Regions from separate parts of the Homo sapiens genome. Here region 2 is linked to region 1. Evidence: promoter capture Hi-C in 16 types of primary human blood cells and fetal thymus (Javierre and others, 2016). All regions are on one chromosome and are shown on one strand. Each heading gives the region's core, a stretch centred on a gene start or on the middle of the fragment in contact. The rest is flanking DNA. Distances are from core to core; before and after follow the strand shown. Region 1 holds the start of TASL (TLR adaptor interacting with endolysosomal SLC15A4). Region 2 overlaps GK (glycerol kinase).

The links. Contacts are between HindIII fragments. The CHiCAGO score rates a contact against its expected background, and 5 or more counts as called.
Region 2: a fragment that was not itself captured here is called in contact with the fragment with the promoter of TASL in region 1 in 2 of 17 cell types (neutrophils and monocytes); the score reaches 8.4 in neutrophils.

Annotation. Positions count from the first base shown.
Region 1 is chrX:30,576,205-30,579,731 of GRCh38, forward strand. TASL (TLR adaptor interacting with endolysosomal SLC15A4) reads right to left here and starts at 1,562. Exons shown (of 3, transcript NM_025159.3): 1 at 1,434-1,562; 2 at 548-662. RefSeq lists an enhancer at 1,584-1,793. The HindIII fragment of the contact is 8,514 bases long and covers 927-3,527 here.
Region 2 is chrX:30,696,352-30,699,878 of GRCh38, forward strand. It overlaps GK (glycerol kinase), which reads left to right. Exons shown (of 21, transcript NM_001205019.2): 8 at 266-332; 9 at 1,381-1,398. Among named protein-coding and RNA genes, the nearest start is that of GK-AS1, 20 kb to the right of the region's middle. The HindIII fragment of the contact is 1,633 bases long and covers 1,142-2,774 here.

The DNA of each region.
Region 1 (3,527 bases), core at 312-2,811:
AGTATTGTGTTGATGTTATGTTTCCGTGGTGTTGTAATGTGTTATAGAAGACTGCCTTTATTTTTAGGAGATACATGCTCAAGAATTTAGGGGTGACATGTGTCCTAAAGTCAGCAACATACTTTCAAACCATTCAGGGAAAAAACTGTGCATATGTGCATGCGTGTGTGTGAATATATATATACACATATAGAGAGAGAGAAAAGGACAGGCAGAGACAGAGAAAGACAAAGCGAGAGAGAAAGTAAATGTGGCAAAAAGATACCACTGATTAATACACATGATGAAAATATGGGTGTTCGTTGTACTATTCTTTCAATTTTTATATAGATTTGAAACATTTCTAAATAAAAATTGGGAGGGGGAAAAAACCATATTTAGTTAATGAAGGCATATTTACATTGTATAATGTTTATTAAGAGCCTAGAGGGACAATATCTTATATATCTAAAATAATCACTACATATGAGATGAGAAATGTCTCAGTGACTTGATATAAATACTTCAAACATCATTTTGCTCTGAGATAATAGAATTAGTGTACTACCTTTGAATATCTCCAAAATTCCACTTATGATATGGATGTTTGACACAGACTTCAAATACTCTTCAATCCTCCAGAAGCTTCTCAAGCTCAGAAACAATCTTCTTCTCACACTGACCTATGCAAGAAATGTTATAAAATATCAATATAAATATTCTGTCCAAACCAGGTCTATATTTAAGCACAGATTCATATGCGCAAGACAAAGAATGTTTGAGCGAGTCTAAAGATAATTCAAACAAAACTCCACTCGTACATGCGCTATCTTTAATACCAAAAGGGAAGCTTTCCCCAAATCACCCAGATGAAAGTCGAAAAGCATCCTCACTATAGATCGCATTCATTTTGAATACATCCTGCCACACAGAAAAACACTATCACAAGCTTGCTGAACTGAATAATTGAGAGTCAAATCCAATTGGAAAGGACTGTGATTGTTTTCGTCTCTAAAACTGCATCACCGTAACTGAATTCAAGAGCTGTGTTGTCCCTGCAAAACCCTGCTTAGGTTTTTAGGCCTTCTTTTAAAAATGCAGAAGCTAAACCAGTGTGGCAATTAGTGAAAGAGGACTGCAAAAATAACACAATAAATATTTGCTCAGATCAGTCAAAAATTGTAGGTAAAAATATAAGTGTTTTAGAAATGCTTAGAATGTGGACACGAGGAGGTAAGGAAAGGAAGTATTGGGCTTAATTTCTCTTTATTTTTCAACTCCACTGAATGCTTGTTTAAACTCCCACTTGTCTCTGATATGGTAAGCTAGAAAAGCATTTTAGATGTCATAAGAATGGATCAGCGCTCTCGTGATAAAGGGCTAAGAAAGCGTGAGAAGACAGATGACAAAAAATAATAGCGGAGTTCTAGGGTCCTTTGCTTTCTTTTTCTTACCTTCACTAACCAATCTGCTCATCTGATCCGGCAGAAACACAGCAACTGACCAAACAGAGAGATGAACAAGCCAGCCAATGCTCTTTCCAGAAATTTTCACAAGCCTTTCACTGATGAGACCAGTAGACTGAGCTGCTCAGTGCAAAGCCATTCTTTTTATAATTGGTCCCATGGAAAAAGAGTTGTTTTTGTTCAAGTCCGATTTGTGCTAAAGAGGCAGTGGGAAGTCCCGGGAGGTGGGGAGGCAGTAACTGACAAAGCCACATCAAGCCACAGAATGGTGTTTCTTCCCCTTTTTCGAAAAATGAAACCTATCTACGAAACTGTCTCTTATTAAAATAGTTTATGGTTACACATTTTGTAAGAACCCTAGCAACAGAATTAAATTTCCTTTCTAGAAAAGTACATTATCTGGGATCCTTCACCCAAAAGAAAGCCAAAGTCACATATGACTTTAGGAAATTCTGTTTCGTTACTAATCTATAATTTTTAAGAAGTATTATTTCTCAATGGTACTTATAATTTTTAAAAATGTAAATGAAAAAAATTTTCTCGGCCGGGCGCAGTGGCTCACGCCTGTAATCCCAGCACTTTGGGAGGCCGAGGCAGGTGGATCAGGAGGTCAGGAAATCGAGACCATCCTGGCAAACACGGCGAAACCTCGTCTCTCCTAAAAATACAAAAAATTAGCCGGGCGCGGTGGCGGGCGCCTGTGGTCCCAGCTACTCGGGAGGCTGAGGCAGGAGAATGGCGTGAACCCGGGAAGTGGAGCTTGCAGTGAGCCGAGATCGCGCCACTGCACTCCAGCCTGGGCGACAGGGCGAGACTCCGTCTCAAAAGAAAAAAAAAAGAAAAAAGTTTTCCCTCTCCAAATACCGAAGGTCAAAACAATAATACATGGTGTGGGCAAAGTTGTGAAGAAACAAGCACTCTCAAACACTACTGATGAGATTGTAAACATATTTAGAGGGCAATTTCCCAGTATCTCTCAAATACAAATATTCATACCCTTTGACCCAACAATTGTATTTTTTATAAATTTGTCCAAGCTATATGTTTACACTTGTACACAAAGACTTATGTGAAAAGATATTTGTTGCAGCATTGCTTGAGAAAATAAATGACTAGAAAAAATTATATCCATAAATAAGATATTGGCCAAGTAAATGAGAACGTATGCATACTTAAAATCCTATGTAGGTTGTGTGCGGTGGCTCACGCCTGTAATCCTAGCACTTTGGGAGGCCGAGGCAGGTGGATCACTTGAGGTCAGAAGTTTGAGACCAGCCTGGCCAACATGGTGAAACCTTGTCTCTACTAAAAATACAAAACTTAGCCACGCGTGGTGGTGGGCACCTGTAATCCCAGCTACTCGGAGGCTGAGGCATGAGAATCCCTTGAACCCGAGAGGTGGAGGTCACAGTGAGCTGAGATTGTGCCACTGCACTCCAGCCAGGGTGACAGAGCGAGACTCCATCTCAAAAAAAAAAAAAAAGAAAAAAAAAGATCTCTAACATATATTGTTTAGCAAGAACTCATTTTCCAGTTTGTATTTTTAAGGAATATATGTATATACATGCTTATGTAATAGAATATTTCTTTTTAAAATTTTGTATTTTAATTTTTGTAGGTATACAGTAGGTGTATATATTTATGGGGTACATAAGATGTTTCGATACATGCATATGATGCATAATAATTACATCATGAAAAATGGGGTATCCATCCCCTCAAACATTTATCTTTTGTGTTACAAAAAATCTAATTATACTATTTTAGTTATACTAAAATGTAAAATTAAGTTATTATTCACTACAGTATCCCTGTTGTGCTATTAAATACTTTGTCTTATTCATTCTTTCTAACTAGTTTTTGCACCCATTAACCATCCCTACCTGCCCCACCAGCCCTCCACTACCCTTCCCAGCCTCTGGTAACCATGCTTCTACTCTCTATGTGCATGAGTTCAATTGTTTTGATTTTTAGATATCACAAATAAGTGAGAACATGTGATGTTTGACTTTCTGTTTCTGGCTTATTTCACTTAACATAATGACCTCTGGTTCCATCCATGTCGTTGCAAATGACAGGATC
Region 2 (3,527 bases), core at 708-3,207, 120 kb after region 1:
CACGGAAGTTTAGGTTCCTTTATAAAAGTACTTTGGTTTCTGTGTGCTTTCTAATTTTTATTGATTGGCTTGCATAAAGTTAGAATGTTAAATATCTAAGAATACAGCTATGTTCTGTTGGCTTACGTATTTATTGCTATCTAACTCCATGCTCAAAAACATCCATTTCTAATTGTTATTTATGCTTTTTGCATTTAAATACATATAAATGTTTCTAGATGTCTATTTAAAACAGTGTTAAATACCCAATCTTCTTGTTTTTCAGATTTTTTGGAATTCCAATGGAAATTCTTCCAAATGTCCGGAGTTCTTCTGAGATCTATGGCCTAATGGTAAAAAACAAACAAACAAACAAAAAACACACCAAAAAACCAAAAAACAAACAAAAAAAAACCTAATAATTAAAGTTTTTTTATTACAAAACAAGTTTACTATTCATAATTCAAAAGTCAACTGTGTTATGTTTTGTGACTTAAAAACTTTACAGTCCTTTTTACAATGGATTTGCATTTATAAACTTTAATTGGTTTTTCTTTGAGTATTATTATTTTTAAAGAATTGATGGGATACTCTAACTTTAGATGTTGGCATGAGCCAATTTATTCTTTGAATCCAAATAACTGTTTAGTGGTTGTGATGTCTGCTTTTAATTTAGCGGAGAGACTCTGCATATTTAGTAGTGTTCTTTTTCCCGTTGAATCTTTTTTATGGCCAAGCTATGTTATATATTAGATTCTTTGCCTGAGCAAAATTTAGCAAAGAAACTGAAAGCAAAGAGTCTGTTTCTGATTTGGGATTGCTAATTAAACTAGTTTCTGTAATGGACATTTTTACTTTTGATTTCACTGAAATCCAGTAAAGACATAGCTTCAGCAAAAGTGTGCCTAGCATCATTAAGAGTCTGTGGTTAAACATCAGGAATGAAAACCTCTAGGAGGATTTGCACTGGTGTTTGAGCACAAAAATCTGGAATTTATGATAAGACTCAGGAATAAGTCTGATAAATTACAAAAAGTATTGCTTAGACATTTCATGAAAGATATGAGAAACTTCACTTACAAAGTTAATAATAATATAGATGAACACTAAGTGCTCTGGATAAAGCTTGAGCAAGAATTTTTAACTGTTTTATTTATAATAAAGCTTTTTAAGGCAACATAGAATTTCTTAAGGAAGCCATAGTCACTGCTTATCTACAGTAAAAGTGCTTTGATCATTTCATAGCTGTCTGCAAACTGACTTGGGTCAAGGAAAAAGAAACGATGCTTGAGAAATAGTTTCACAGGATGGTTAGAAAAAAAAACGTGGAACTGGCCTAGTTTTCTCTTGTATTTAAAATATTATGCTTCTATCCTTCTCTCTCCCCCTTGCTGACTATAGAAAATCTCTCATAGCGTGGTGAGTAGGTTGCCCGCCAATTATGTACCCATTCATTTGGAAAAGATACAGTGCACTTCCATTTATTTTTAGACAAGCAGAAGTCCATTTACTAAACATATATATCTAGAATTTCCGTGACCTTCCAAATTATTATAAGCTCTAGTCAGATTTTAATTTTTACAAAAACTTAATCTTGTTTGTTTTTAAAGAGTAATGTTCTAAAATAAAAGACTAAGGTAGTTTCCTGGAATGAGAGATTCTGATATTCTCATAAAGTACAACTGTGATGTGCTTTGGGCTTTACCATAATAGGGCAATTAGATAGATACAGTTTGAAATGTCTATTTTAAATGATATATTGACCACCTTTCCAGACCAGTTAGTTGGAAATGCACTGTTACTTTTTCTGCATGCTTCATCAAGGATGCTCCAGGAGGAGCATCAGAGGTCCCTCCCTCTGAAGAAAAAAGAGCACTTTACATGCCTGAACACACATAGTAGATCCTGTTGATAGTTTGTTAATTTTGAAAGTATAAGCAAAGACTTCTTGTAATACTTAAATATATCAAGATATATAGCCTCTAGGTTTCCTATAGATTCACTTTAAGCCTTTTATGAAATTTACCCTTTACTTAATATCCAGGTTCAGATTTTCAAAGAATATATACAGTAAATGAAAATAGCAGGTTTTGCTGGGCACGGTGGCTCACGCCTGTAATCCCAGCACTTTGGGAGGCCGAGGCGGGCGGATCACGAGGTCAGGAGATCGAGACCATCCTGGCTAACATGGTGAAACCCCGTCTCTACTAAAAATACAAAAAAATTAGCCGGGCATGGTAGCGGGTGCCTGTAATCCCAGCTACTTGGGAGGCCGAGGCAGGAGAATGGCGTGAACCTGGGAGGCGGAGCTTGCAGTGAGCCGAGATCGCGCCACTGCACTCCAGCCTGGGCGAGAGGGAGACTCCGTCTCAAAAAAAAAAAAAAATTAGCCGGGTGTGCTGGCACATGCCTGTATTCCCAGCTACTCGGGAGGCTGAGGCAGGAGAATCACTTGAACCCAGGAGGCGGAGGTTGTGGTGAGCCGAGATGGTGCCATTGCATGCCAGCCTGGGCAACAAGAGTGAAACTCCATCTCAAAAAAAAAAAAAAAAAAGAAAAGAAAATAGCAGGTTTTGAATTAACCAGAAAACAAGAAAGAAATAAAATGATACCAGCTATCTAGAGGACATTTTCTATTTTGTAAAGGGTTTCTACATTTATGCTATTATTTCTTCATTATCATAGCTATGTGAGGTGAATTCTATTCTTGCCCTCACTTTAACAGACGGGATATCTAAAGCTCCCAGAGCCTGGGAGACTTGCTCATACATGGCAGACCAAGGAGTCAGGTCCAAAGCTTTAGTTTGGTGCTCATCCTAGTACATCACCCCTACTTCAGGGATTTTATATATATATATATGTTTTATATATATGTTATATATATACATGTTATATATACATGTTATGTATAACATGTTATATATACATGTTATGTATAACATGTATATATACAACATGTTATACATAACATGTATATATATAACATGTTATATATATATATACACACATACGTTTTATATATATATATACACACACACTTTTTTTTTTTTTTTGAGACGGAGGCTCACTCTGTCACCCAGGCTGGAGTGCAATGGCATGATCTTGGCTCACTGCAACCCCGCCTCCTGAGTTCAAGTGATTCTTCCACCTCAGCCTCCTGAGTAGCTGGGATTACAGGTACCCGCCATCATGCCCGGCTAATTTTGGTATTTTTGTGGAGATGGGGTTTCACCATGTTGGCCAGGCTGGTCTTCAAGTCCTGACCTCAGGTGATCCTCCCACCTCGGCCTCCCAAAGTGCTGGGATTACAGGCAGGAGGCACAGTGCCCGGCTGGGGATCCTATTTCTTAGTTCTCCTAATTCCTTAATATCATTAAATATTGCCTTGAGTTAATGTGTCTTTTTTTAAAATTAAGGTTGTCAAGTCTACAATCAGCCACTTAAATCTCATTTTTCTTCCTAGAATGCTGGCCATCATGATCAAAATAAAAACCAGTATTTATGACATAAATTAACTGTTGCTTATCTAAATTTGAAGAAAGATGTTT